Linked DNA regions of Homo sapiens: regions 1, 2 and 3 are each linked to region 4. The links are contacts of gene promoters, found by promoter capture Hi-C in blood cells and fetal thymus (Javierre and others, 2016). All regions are on one chromosome and are shown on one strand. The core of a region is centred on a gene start or on the middle of the fragment in contact, and the rest is flanking DNA. Distances in the headings are between cores, read along the strand shown. Region 1 overlaps LOC105379048 (a long non-coding RNA gene). Region 2 has its middle 5.5 kb from the start of SPZ1. Region 3 overlaps SERINC5 (serine incorporator 5). Region 4 holds the start of THBS4-AS1 (THBS4 antisense RNA 1).

What was found. Contacts are between HindIII fragments. The CHiCAGO score rates a contact against its expected background, and 5 or more counts as called.
Region 1: a contact is called between a fragment that was not itself captured here and the fragment with the promoter of THBS4-AS1 in region 4, in 1 of 17 cell types (naive CD4 T cells). The highest score is 5.0, in naive CD4 T cells.
Region 2: a contact is called between a fragment that was not itself captured here and the fragment with the promoter of THBS4-AS1 in region 4, in 9 of 17 cell types (neutrophils, non-activated CD4 T cells, naive CD4 T cells and 6 more). The highest score is 12.0, in neutrophils.
Region 3: a fragment that was not itself captured here is called in contact with the fragment with the promoter of THBS4-AS1 in region 4 in 1 of 17 cell types (neutrophils); the score reaches 5.4 in neutrophils.

Annotation. Positions count from the first base shown.
Region 1 is chr5:79,920,407-79,923,455 of GRCh38, reverse strand. All of the region lies in intron 2 of LOC105379048 (a long non-coding RNA gene), which reads right to left. Among named protein-coding and RNA genes, the nearest start is that of LINC01455, 15 kb to the left of the region's middle. The HindIII fragment of the contact is 7,775 bases long and covers 1-3,049 here.
Region 2 is chr5:80,323,690-80,327,221 of GRCh38, reverse strand. No RefSeq gene overlaps it. Among named protein-coding and RNA genes, the nearest start is that of SPZ1, 5.5 kb to the right of the region's middle. The HindIII fragment of the contact is 7,032 bases long and covers 1-3,532 here.
Region 3 is chr5:80,225,714-80,229,015 of GRCh38, reverse strand. All of the region lies in intron 1 of SERINC5 (serine incorporator 5), which reads left to right. Among named protein-coding and RNA genes, the nearest start is that of SERINC5, 29 kb to the left of the region's middle. The HindIII fragment of the contact is 9,320 bases long and covers 1-3,302 here.
Region 4 is chr5:80,082,167-80,085,430 of GRCh38, reverse strand. THBS4-AS1 (THBS4 antisense RNA 1) reads left to right here and starts at 1,766. Exons shown (of 8, transcript NR_109930.1): 1 at 1,766-1,931; 2 at 2,894-3,071. THBS4 (thrombospondin 4) reads right to left here. Exons shown (of 22, transcript NM_003248.6): 21 at 2,886-3,025; 22 at 2,144-2,351. The coding sequence ends at 2,290. RefSeq lists silencers at 1,038-1,252, 2,368-2,457. The HindIII fragment of the contact is 5,954 bases long and covers 1,750-3,264 here.

The DNA.
Region 1 (3,049 bases), core at 362-2,861, 160 kb after region 4:
ATAGATGACAAGCTCATGAAGGAACCAGTAACAAAATAAGAGCTAGTTTGAAAAAAATTTGAGGAACAGGGATTACATGGCTAGTGGGGAAAGGAATATAGAAATAAGATTGCTAAATAGATACAAAACAAGTTAATGCTCTATAGAGTAAAAAAAACCACACGCACAAATGCAGGCATTGGAGTTATCTTCTCTACCAAGCTGCCTTCTCCTCCCTCAAAAATCACCACACCTTATCATTTTTCTACAAGTTCATCTCTGACTTTTCAGGATGAAGACATGTGTAGACCATGGTCAAAAGCACTTTCCCTGAGTGAATCAGATGACCCTTCACAGACTATTTAGAAATGGCATGCAGCCATTAGATTTGCCTTATTTCTAAGTTTTAGATACTTTTTCCTGCATAGTGTCATAAACTTTATGTCCTGGGTCCTTTAGGGTTTATATTTTTGAAATGTCAAAGCTAATATTTGATTCTTGCTCTCAGCTTTTCTGTCATAATAACTCTTCCTTCTTAAACCTAGGAAAGAATAATCTTAAACCAGAGCTGGTATACGCTCAGAATTCAACCGAAAGTCACAGGAACAAGCAGTACCAGACTCTTCTGGAACTGGGGGTGTTAATGGATTGACAGGCACAGTGAGTACCTGAAATAGGGAATTAAGTGACTGTATATTTTCTCAGTGCTGAATGTAGAAACTCCCAGCCCTTCCCTCACTCAGTGCCAGAATGATGACACTCAGACCTTTACCATCTTGGAAGGAGATAGAAAACTCTCTGGCTCATTTTGCCAGTCCAAAGGAAAGACCTAAGGTAGGTCTTCCCCAACAAATGGGTTACTCACATCACCCTACAGTAAAGTGTAGGTTTCTCAAGTTCAAACTACATACTCAGAGCTCCCAAGCAGACTTTCAGTTTTTGTGTTAGTCTGTTTTTGCGTTGCTATAAAGAAATACCTAAGACTGAGCAATTTATAAAGAAAAGAGGTTTATTGACTCATGGTTCTGAAGGATGTACATGAAGCATAGAGCTGGCATCTGATTCTAGTGAGGGCTTTGGGAAACTTGTAATCATGGTGGAAGATGAAGGGGAGCCAGCATGTCACCTTGTGAGAGCAGCAGGACGAGAGAGAAGGGAGAGGTCCCAGACTCATTTAAACAACCAGATCTTGTGTGAACTCAGAGCAAGAACCCACTCATCACCAGTGAGATGGCACTAAGCCATCCATGAGGAATCCACCCCTGTGATCCAATCACTTCCCACCAGTGATTCCAACAATGAGGATTGCATTACAACATGAGATTTGGAGGGGACACACATCCAAACCATGTCAGTCCTCAACTCTAAATCATAAGCAGTCAATTGAAGAATACTAGACTTCTAAGGAAAGTCCTTAATTTGGAAGATATAGATGCAAACAAACAAAAAGAGAAAAAGCAACTCAAAAAATGGGGAGAATACTTTTTATTTTATTTTAGATTCAGGGGGTGCATGTGCTTGTTTGTAACACAAGTATATTGCATACTGGTGGGGACTGGGCTTCTAGTGTACCCATTACCCAAATAGTGGACATTGTATCTGATAAGTAATTTGAATACTTAAAAAACAAACAATTTCCAGGAATGTCATCAGAGAGCTAAGAGAAGATACTGCATTCGTAAAATTAGAACAGGACATTATATGTGTCCAACCCCACCCTCACTCCTGGCAAAGGAACATTCAGAGAACCAAAGAGCTCCTGGAAATTAAAAAGGTGATAGCAAAATGAAGAAGAAAAGTCATTAGAAGGGATGGAAGATAAAGTAGAACCCCAGCAGAAATACACACACAAAAAAGGAGAAAATTTAAAGGATTAGTCTAGGAGATCCAAAAGCAAAAGAATAGAAATTCCAAAAAGAAAAAAAAAAGAAACTGAGAAAACAGAGGGGAGGGGAGAAAATTGCCAATGAAATGATTCAGGGAAAGTTCCCAGCCTGAAGCACATGATTTTCCAGATTGGACAGTGCATCATATGCCAGCACTAGAAGCCAGACAGTAATAAGCAGCACCTTTACCACCCTGAGCCAGCATTTCCAATCTTTCCTTACTAGCATTCAGTATAAGCACAGAATAGACACATTTTGAAACATGCAAGGCCTCAAAAAATTTACCTTCCATGCATCTTTTTTTCAGGACTCTAGAGGAGGATTGTTACACCAAAATAAAGGATTAAACTCAGACAGAGGAAGACTTGGTATAAAGGAAACTGGAAATCCAACACAGGAGAGAAACAAGGGGCTCTCCAGGATGATGGTAAAGCAAGATCCCAGGACATCCACTGGGCACTAGAGGCTGAGGGCCACCAGCCCAAAATACATTAGTGTGACCTGAGACAGGCCTGTTGCTCAGACTGTCACCCATTCCCTCCTACCCTCCAAACAAGAGATTAAAGCAAGAGAGAAGATGTGAAATCAAGAACACAGAGAATACAGCCATGAAAATGGCAAAGGGAATGGCAAGGATAACAACAGAGGGAAGTTCGAGATGACAATTGAACAGTGGCTTAGAAATATTTGATATTTCTCTGTGTACTTATTATTTTTCATAAGAGAAAAAGAAATTTAAAAAATATGGAAGGATATAAGACAAAATATTAACAGCCCATATCTCGGAGTGGTAGCATAATTGATCATTAACTTCTTTGTATGGTATATTTTCTGGGTTTTTAAAAAGATATAAAGTATCTGTGCAATTAAAAAAAAATGGTTTTTTAAAAATTTCCCAACATTTTTATTTTTTAAGTGTACAATTCAGTGGCTTTTTTTAGTATATTTACAAAGTTGTGCAACTATTACCAGTACCTAATTCCAGAACATTTATTTCTCTGCAGAAAGAAACCTGTACCCTTCAGCAGTCACTCCCCATTCCTCAGCCTAATCCCTGGAAACCATTAATCTACTTTCTGTCTCTATAGATTTGCCTCTTCTGGGTTTTTCATGTCAATAGAATCATATAACATATTGCTTTTGTGTCTGACTTCTTTCATGTGCCATGAAGTTTTCAAGGTTCC
Region 2 (3,532 bases), core at 1,030-3,529, 240 kb before region 4:
AGGAGGCTGAGGTGGGAGAATACTTTGAATCCAGGAGTTCAAGACCAGCCTGGGCCAACACAGCAAGACCTCATCTCAAAATAAAAATAAAACAAAAATTTTAAAAATAAAAAAAATTGTTTAAATAGTTAAGATGGTAAATTTAATGTTGTATATTGTTTTACCAAAATAAAAGAAAAATAAATTGAAAAAATGCAACAAAACAACTTTAAAAAAGGAAAATCAAGAAGGCGCCAGAAATCATTGAAATGAAATACTAAAAATAATGAAGATTAACGAAGCCAAAATCTGGGTTTTGTTAAAGATTAATAGGATACATCAAGAAAAAGGGAGAAGAGACAAATAAACAAAATAAGGTCTTTCCCTAGAAAAATCTGAGGACCATTGAACAGTACTTTCTTTTAAATAAGAAAAACCATTTAATATTTAAAATCAAAGCAAAATGTACATATCAGTATCTAATTCCTCATAAACTGAGGCTTCCTAACAGACCAGTGCAAACCAAAGCAATGTATGCTTCCCTGTGAGAGAAAATTTAATTAAATATGGATTAGTGGTCAGTGGTTTCCGCTGGAAGACTGTGTGATTGCTAGAAAAGAAAAACACTCAACTGGCTGTGACACTCCAATGATGATCTGCCTGAGGCCTTTATTAAGGTAAGAAAAATTTAAATGATTTTCTATATCAATCAAGTTTGTAGAATAACTTTATAAAAATAATAATATTGATGTGATAATGATGATAAATCCACTCCTCTGCCTCACACTAATCTAGGATAGCTGTCTTTTTAATGTAATACTTATCTTTCTTTTTACTTGCAACATACCAATGACCCCAACTTCCAGATATCCTGTGTGCCTGGGGTTTTTGCTATTGTTCCCTTCCTTTTTAGCCAGGCTTGCTTCTGATTAGTTTCTAATTCTCCCATTTAATCTATTCCTACTTCCCAGAGAGCAATAAGACCTCAGCTGAGGGAGCCAGAGAATCTTTGAACCATTTGTCCATGGTCCAAAAGAAAATTATTGTCACCACCTTTTAAATGAAGCAACTCAGACTGAAACAAGTTGAGACTTAGATTATCTCCCTGTTTGTGAAATGCTTCTTCCATTATTTCACCCTTACTTTATATATATATAAAGTGCCTCATACTTTCTTATTGGAAAGGTTAGAAAGGGCTCAAAGCATAGACAAGCAAAAAGGACTTGAAAACACCCATTGTACAACTTATAGACAATCAACCTAAATACTATGATGAATTTTTTCTGGATCAATTCAAGATAAATTAAAGAAATAAATGCGAAAGACAAGAAATTAAAAGGACTTTGGAAGGCTTTTATTCATGATATAAGGAAAGATTTCTTTCTATTTTTTTTTTTTTGAAATGGAGTCTCACTCTGTCTTCCAGGCTGGAGGGCAGTGGCGCGATCTCGGCTCACTGCAACTTCTGCCTCCCAGGTTCAAGCGATTCTCCTGCCTCAGCCTCCCAAGTAGCTGGATCTATAGGTGCATACCACCACACCCAGCTAATTTTTGTATTTTCAGTACAGACGGGGTTTTGCCATGTTGGCCAGGCTGGTCTTGAACTCCTGCCCTCGGGTGATCCACCTGCCTTGGCCTCCCAAAGTGCTGAGATTACAGGCATGAGCCACCGTGCCTGGCCAAGTGAACTACACAATTCTTTATTAATCAAGGTGCTTGGAGAATAGTGTGGAGGGTATCTCCATTTGAAGGAAAGACAGGTGGAAAGAAGTGTGTAATTTTTTTAAGGACCCCCAATATTATTTAAGTGTGGCAATCTCTTTTTATTTCACTAAGGGCTGTAACAAGAAAGTGTTGGCTTTTAGCTTTTGAATAAAGTGATACATATTCCAAACATAGAAAGCAATGTTGGTTTAGGAGTAGGGAGCAGTATTTCAGGTTGTCATTTTGGTACTTCCAACATATGAAAATCTCTTGTGCCCCCTGCTACATGTATAATAGAACCTGTGGTGGAGATTGTGATTGTCTTTGCTGGGTTGTTAATATTCATCTTTATGTTGCCCTGAATGCATACATGAAGTTTTTGCACCAGAGACAGATTATTATGATAATTACTGTGCTGGATTCCCTTGTCCTAGTTCTTATCCCTGGGGGGATGCAATAAGAACCAGATGTCATCCTCTATGTAATGAGGTCTGTACTGTAAGTGAGGAATTCTGAGAAAATGAAACTGAGCATTTATATAAAAGAGAAAGACAGCTGTCCTCCTCCCCTTCTAAAAGAAGAGAGAAAAAAGGAGGGGCACGGTGGCTCACACCTGTAATCCTAGCATTTTGGGAGGCCAAGGCGGGCGGATCACCTGAGGTCAGGAGTTCAAGACCAGCCTGACCAACATGGAGAAACCCCGTCTCTACTAAAAATACAAAATTAGTTGGGCATGGTGGTGGGCACCTGTAATCCCAGCTACTTGGGAGGCTGAGGCAGGAGAATCACTTGAACCTGGGAGGAAGAGGTTGCGATGAGCCAAGATTGTGCCATTGCACTCCAGCCTGGGCAACAAGAGCGAAACTCCATCTCAAAAAAACAAAAGAGGAAAAAAAAAAAACCCTTTACCCCTGGAAGGCAAGATGGAGAGGATCCTGGGTTCTCACTCCAACTTTTTGATTGATTGACTGATTGATTGAGACAGGGCTCACTCGGTCCCCTAGGCTGGAGTGCAGTGGCATGATCATGGCTCATTGCAGCCTCAACCTCCCAGGCTCAAGCAATCTTTCTATCTCAGCCTCCCAAGTAGCTGACACTACAAGCGTGTGCTGTCATGCCTGGCTAATTTTTGTAGTTTTTGTAGAGATGGGGTCTCCCTATGTTGCCCAGGCTGGTCTCAAACTCCTGGGTTCAAGCAATCCTCCCACCTTAGTCTCCTGAGTAGCTGAGACTACAGGTGTGCCCCACTATGCCTGGCTAATTTTTGTAGAGATGGGGGTCTCACTATATTGCCCAGGCTGGTCTCAAACTCCTGACCTCAAGTGATCCACCTGCCTCGGCCTCCCAAAGTGCTGGGATTACAGGTGTGAGCCACTGCACCCAGTCTCTCTGTCAACTTTCTCTGGGTCATCTCTGTGGTTCTATCTTCAAGTTCATAGAATCTTTTCTTTGACATCTATATTTTGTTATTGAGCACATTCGGTGAGGTTATATCATTTATATTTTTCAGTTCCATAATTTCCACTTATGTCTCTTTTATATTTATTTGCTGATACTTTCTATTTTTTCATTTGTTTCATGTTTGTAACTGTTCATGGACACATTTTTTTTTTTTTTTTTGAGATGGAGTTTCACTCTTGTTGGCCAGGCTGGAGTGCAATGGCATGATCTTGGCTCACTGCAACCTCTGCCTCCTGGGTTCAAGCAATTCTCCTGCCTCAGTCTCCCGAGTAACTGGGATTACAGGCATGTGCCATGACACCCAGCTAATTTTGTATTTTTAGTAGAGACGGGGGTTCTCCATGTTGGTCAGGCTGGTCTCAAACTCCCGACCTCAGGTGATCCACCC
Region 3 (3,302 bases), core at 762-3,261, 140 kb before region 4:
TAAAACATTGGTGGTATTTTGAGAAAAAAGAAATTCTCTGAATTTATCACTAAATTTGTTGTAAGCCTAAGTATAGTTTTTGTTTTCCACCTTTTTCTTTTGTTCTTGTTTCTTGTCATAGTTAACTTTGAAGAGTTTGGAATGATCTTTTTATTTATATTAGAGTGTGAGGTATTCTAATGCTATCAACAAGAAAAAACCATGAATTATGTGGGAAATTTTAGACAAGGACATTTTGTGCAGAATGATAGTGAATGAGAATTTAGGCAACTTAAAATTTTTGTCCTGGCTGGGCATGGTGGTTCATGTCTGTAATCCTAGTGCTTTGGGATTGAGGCTGGGAGTTTAAGACCAGCCTGGGGAGTATAGCAAACAAAAAATAAAATAAAAAAACTAGCAGGGCATGGTGGCATGTGCCTGTAGTCCTAAGTACTTGCGAGGCTGAGGCAGGAGGATCATTTGAGGCAAGGAGTTCAAGGCTCCAAAGAGCTATGGTTGGACCACTGCGCTCCAGTGTGGGCAACAGAATGAGACCCTTTCTTAAACAAAAAAAAAATTCTTAATAGTTGAAAGAGAAAGGCAATGATGAAAGATTTGGATTGTGATTCAAATTTTATACATACTACAAGTGCCAAACTCAGTTTTCACTCTGTTTTATGCTGAGTGTCTATACATTTTTTCTTTCCTTCCTTCCTTCCTCCTCTCCCCCTCCCTCCCTCCCTCCTTTCCCTCCCTCCCTCCCTCCCTCCTTTCCTTCCCTCCCTCCTTTCCCTCCCTCCCTCCCTCCCTCACTCACTCTGCTGCCCAGGCTGGAGTGTAGTGCCGAAATCATAGCTCACTGTAGCCTTCTTGACCTCACAGGCTCTGGTGATCCTCCCATCTCAGTCTCCTGGGCAGCTGAGACTACAGGTGCATGCTACCATGCCTGGCTAATTTTTTTTTTTTTTCATATTATTTGTAGAGATGGGGTTTTGCCATGTTGCCCAGGCTGGTCTCGAATTCTTGGGCTCAAGTGATCCACCCACCTTGGCCTCTCAAAGTGCTGGGATTACAGATGTGAGCCACCATGCAGGCCAAGTGTCTGTACTTTTAACCAAAGTCCAGAATAATTGCTAGAAACTTTTAAACCTTCTTACCTTGTGTAAACACAGGTTTTTTCTTTTTTGTAAGTCAGGGTCTCACTCTGTCGTCCAGGTTGGAGTGCAGTGGCACTATCTTGGCTCACTGCAACCTCTGCTTTCCGGGTTCAAGCGATTCTCATGCCTCAGCCTCCTGAGTAGCTGGGACCGCAGGTGTTCGCCCCCACCCTGGCTAGTTTTTGAATTTTTAACTTTCAAATGATTGACTGCAAAAATCAGGTAGTCAATTTAAAAATAAACATCTACACATGCGATTCTTTTTTTTTTTTTGTATTTTTAGTAGAGACGGGGTTTCACCATGTTGTCCAGGCTGGTCTCAAACTCCTGGCTTCAAGTGATCCACCCGCCTGGGTCTCCCAAAGAGCTAGGATTAGAGGTGTGAGCCGCTGCTCCCGGCTGTAAACACAGTTTTATTATGAGGTGTGCTGTGACTCTCTAGAGACAGCTCTGCTCTAGAGACGGCACCATAGCAGCACAGGAAAGAGTTTAGGGCCTGGCTGACTGAGTTCCTATCTCGACCTTAGGAGAGACCTCAGTTTTCTCATTTGTGAAAAAAATGGAATTCGTTTTTCCTTTTTCTCTCTTTTCTTCCTTTATGTTTTCTCTACTTATTTTGTCTTTTCCTCATTTTTCAGTCAGTATAGCTTATAAAATTTTTTCTGATTATAAAAGTAGGGCATAGGCCAGGCGCAGTGGCTCATGCCTGTAATCCCAGCACTTTGGGAGGCTGAGGTGGGTGGATCACCTTAGGTCAGGAGTTCAAGACCAGCCTGGCCAACATGGTGAAACCTTGTCCCTACAAAAAATACAAAAATTAGCCGGGCGTGGTGGGGGGCACCTATAATCCCAGCTACTCAGGATGCTGAGACAGGAGAATTGTTTGAACCCGGGAGGTGGAGGTTGCAGTGAACTGAGATCATGCCACTGCACTCCAGCTCTGGGCAACAGAGCCAGACTCCATCTCAAAAAAAGTAGGGCATATTATGCCAAAAATTTAAATTATAATCCTCTTACTTGTGAAAAATGGCAATATGAGTATTTACTTCATGGGATTATTGTGAGGATGAAGTAAATCCATGCTAAGAACTGAGGACCCTACCTGGCACCTAGAAAATGCACAATGCAATTTCCTATTATTTAAAAAAATTATTATTAGTATCACTGCCACAAATTACAAGAAGAATGAAGAATGGCTTTCGGAACGGTGGTGGGATGCCCAAGGCTGTGCTGTGTTCTCGCAGAAAGCATTGGGAATGGCACATCTCAAGGTCAGGACTAGCCCTCACAAGGGGCAGCATCCAGTGGGCTCTTCTGACTGCTGTAGGTGCATGCACCTGTTTTAGGGTCTCTCTTGATTTTATGTTTCTATAGGGGAGTAGGTGGAGGAGGGGTCAAAACAGTATATTCCAGATATCCTGAGATCTGGTGAAGGAAAACTGGTTTTGGAATCCTGTTGGGCTCTGGAATCAGAGATCAGGATTTTGGTTTATCCCAAAGTGGCTTCTGGAAAGTCGGTTAACCTCTGAGACTCAGATTTCCTCATCTGTCAAATGGAGATTGTGATACTTCTATCAAAGGGTTATTTTTGGCCGGATGCAGTGGCTCATGCCTGTAACATGGCAAAACCCCGTCTCTACTAAAAAATACAAAAAATTAGCCAGGCATCATAGTGTGCACCTGTACTCCAGCTACTTGGGAGTCTGAGGCACGAGAATCGCTTGAAGTGGGAGTTGGAGGTTGCAGTGAGCTGAGATCGTGCTACCGCACTCCAACCTGGGGGGACAGAGTGAGACACTGTCTCAAACAAAAGGCAGGGGGGTGGTTTTTTTTTTTCCTTTGGGGAGATTAAATGAAAGGTCTTGAAAGCACCTTAGAGTAGTACCTTGATACATAGGAAGTACTTAAGAAATGATAGGTAACTATTACTTATAATGAGTGCTGGGTAGAAGGATCTCCTTGGTTACCAAAGACACTCACATCTTTAATTTTGGTGTTTCGATGGAAGCACAGGATATAATTCTCTGCCTCCTTAAATTGTTGAACGTGCTGCAAAGTTTGACATTTAGAAATAGAACTAGGGCTGTGGGGCTTTGTTCCGTCTTTAGGGCTTTGTTCTCTGCCCTTGCGTACACACTCGTGTGCATGTGTGAGTGCATATTACAC
Region 4 (3,264 bases), core at 517-3,016:
TTTTTTTTTTTTTGTTTTTGTTTTTGGAGACACGTCTTGCTCTGTCGCCCAGGCTGGAGTGCAGTGGCACGATCTCAGCTCACTGCAACCTCCGCCTCCCGGGTTCAAGAGATTCTTGTGCTTCAGCCACCTGAGGAGCTGGGAGTATAGGCAGGAGCCACTGCACCTGGCCTAATTTTTGTATTTTTAGTAGAGATGGGGTTTTACCATGTTGGCCAGACTGGTCCCAAACTCCTGACCTCAAGCGATCCTCCCACCTAGGCCTCCCAAAGTGCTAGGATTACAGGTGTGAGCCATAGCACCCCACCCATTTTCACTTTTCTTACTTCATTTCTTATGCAAGAAATTTTCTGAAAGCCTCAAGTTTTCTACATCAGCTTCAAAAATATAAGGAGGGCCAACTAGGAATAGGACAAGGTAGAATAATCACTTGTGTGCTGATAAATATTTAACAACCAGTTCTCTGGAGCCCTGATTTGTAGTGTTTGCCAGTTTCTGTGTAAATACTCCCACCATGGCCAATTTCAAACTACCAACCGTTTAACTGGCTCACAATATTCCTAAAACTTGAATAGTTGGCTCTTATGAGCTGGTAGGAGTTGGCTTCAGCACACTGCTGGTTCTACATGCGTCTTTGTTTCTTGTTTTGCATAAATAACAAGTTTTGTCTTCCCAAAAATGTAATAAGCTCCCTAAGGGATGGAATTATGTTCTGGATCTCCTGTGGGCCCATGGTTTCTAAAATAGTTATAGACACAAAAGATTTAACCAAGAGAGTCTGTTTCCTGTGGACATACTGCGTTCTTGGGCTTGCACAGCCGACAACAGGGAGGCTGCCCCAGGGGTGGGCATGGTGTGGGTTGCTGCCTCCTTTCACCAGCCTCACTCTCATTGCCCAGGCTGGAGTACAGTGGTGCAATCTCTGCTCACTGCAGCCTCTGCCTCCCCAGCTCAAGTGATTCTCCCACTTCAACCTCCCAAATAGCTGGGACTATAGGCAAGTGGCACCACACCTGGCTAATTTTTGTATTTTTAGTAGAGATGGGTTTCGCCACGTTGGCCAGGCTGGTCTTGAACTCCTGGCCTCAAGTGATCTGCCTGCCTTGGCCTCCCAAAGTGCTTGGGACCACAGGCAAGTGCCACCACACCTGGCCCCATTGGAGTTTTTGATGTAGGAGATCAGATGTCCTGGATTACAAGGCCACACACATCTCCAGGCTGTACATGAGAGGAGGATGTCCAGAAATCCTCCAGATCTCATGCATGCACCATTGTATTTTCTCACTGTTAAAGTCATGATAAAACTGTGGTGTTTTTTTCTTCATACATGATTTAATATATCTCTAGGAATTCTGGAATAAGAAAATATATAACCGCACAGCAATATTCTTTGAAACAAAATTTCTAGAGAATTTATAAAAATTTGCTTGGATCTTGATTTACAATTGAAATACAAGAAAGGCTAGTGTACAAATTAGGCAAGTTTCTGTGCTGTACATCCAGCTACTGGTACCACAAATAGAGGATATGTTGTGACTTTTTGAGTTGAGGAGGACTTTTATGATCATGTACACTCTACTGTCCTTTAAGAGGCATTCATTCATTCATTCTTCGTTTATTAATTCAGTAAACATTTACTGGCTATTTACTACATTCCAGGTACTGTGGGGATATTGATTGTAATGACATGATCCTTTATTGTCAATATGCTTACAGTCCACTAGGGGGAGCCAAATATATAAATAAGCTTAAGAATTACGTTGAAGGGGCCAGAATAGAAGTCTGTGGAAGGTGTGGGATGGGATGACAGCATCAGAAAGAATTGGGCAAATCTGTCCCAGGACTAGGTCAGAAAAACGCCTCCCTAGGGAAGGTGCCACCCCAAACACGTGTTTCTGAGACCCCTTACCCGAAATAAGGAGGCTGCCAAGGTGAGCATGGAACGGTTAGGCGTTTTGTATGGAGCAAACTGGGGGGACCCCAGCTGAGACCTCTGGCCTGGGCCTTGTGATTCACGCATAGGCTCATCTTATCGGCCACCGGGTCTGAGAAGAAACTACCACCCTGCAAGTTAACAGGGATCCCTCCGAGAACGGGCACCTCAAAGCCTGAGCCACGTGAGAGCAATGTCTGAGCAACACGGTTTTTAAAAATGATCTCTTCTCCTTTATTGCCACATTCACATAAAACGTTTTGATATATTTGGGTTGGTAAAAGCTAAAGAAAATTGAAGTTAAAATATATATGGTTTTAGTGTTCCGAAAAGCAGTTACAGATTGCTTCCTTGGTTTAATTATCGAAGCGGTCGAAATTCTGGGTTTGAAACTCTTGGAAGTCCTCAGGGATGGTGTCTGCAATAGGAATGGGCACAGGGAGGTTAGCGAGGCTCCTTCCACCCCGGACCCCGGACCCCCGCCCGCGGCTCAGGCGTCCTGTAGGGGGCGCTGTTAGCCCGCCCAGGACGCCCCGCAGGCCCTCGCCGCCATTTTCTCCTGCAGGCTGCTTTGCAAACCGTTGGCTTAAAGCCCAGGAGTGCTCCTTCCCGGCCGTGCAGAAAATCAGCAGGCAGAATGGATTTTGCATCTGTGATTATGTTTTAACCACATGAAAATAAAGGCTTCCTGTAAATTAAATCTGACTGGATTTCTCACTGAACCCCAAACCCTAAACCATGCAGTTAAATTCTATGGGTCTTAATTTCCACATGGATAAAATAGGATAAATGTGATCTGCTTTTTACTTCTGGTACACAGGGACTATCAGGTTTTAATGACTATGTGGTATGAGCGTTGGGCTTTTGGGGGGGAAGTGCGGTATAAAAATAAGGTGGCAGTGTTTGACTAATTCTAGTAACAATGTTGAACAGTAACGAGAATGCACATTACCATTGCAGCGATACTTGAGGTTGGACCAGATGATGTTTTCTTGAGAGAAGCAGAAAACGCCAAGTCGGCCTCCACGCATTGTGGTGTCTATGGTGACGCCAGAGTCAGCCACCAACTCAGAGCCTTCATAAAATCGTACCCTGCGGACAACACGGCCGGAGGGGCCTCCATGAAATCCAACCCGGGGTAAAGTGCCCACTGTGAGGCCCAGGGGCCCCACTTCTTATACGTACCTGCGTCTTTCTTTGCTCTGTTTTAGGCTCCATTTTTCGCTGACCTGGATTGTACTGTAGCTGTTGCCACTTACTTACTAGACTGGAAGTCCTTGAGGGCAGGGACCGTGTGTGTCCGTGTGTGTGTGGAGGGGGGTGGGGGGTGT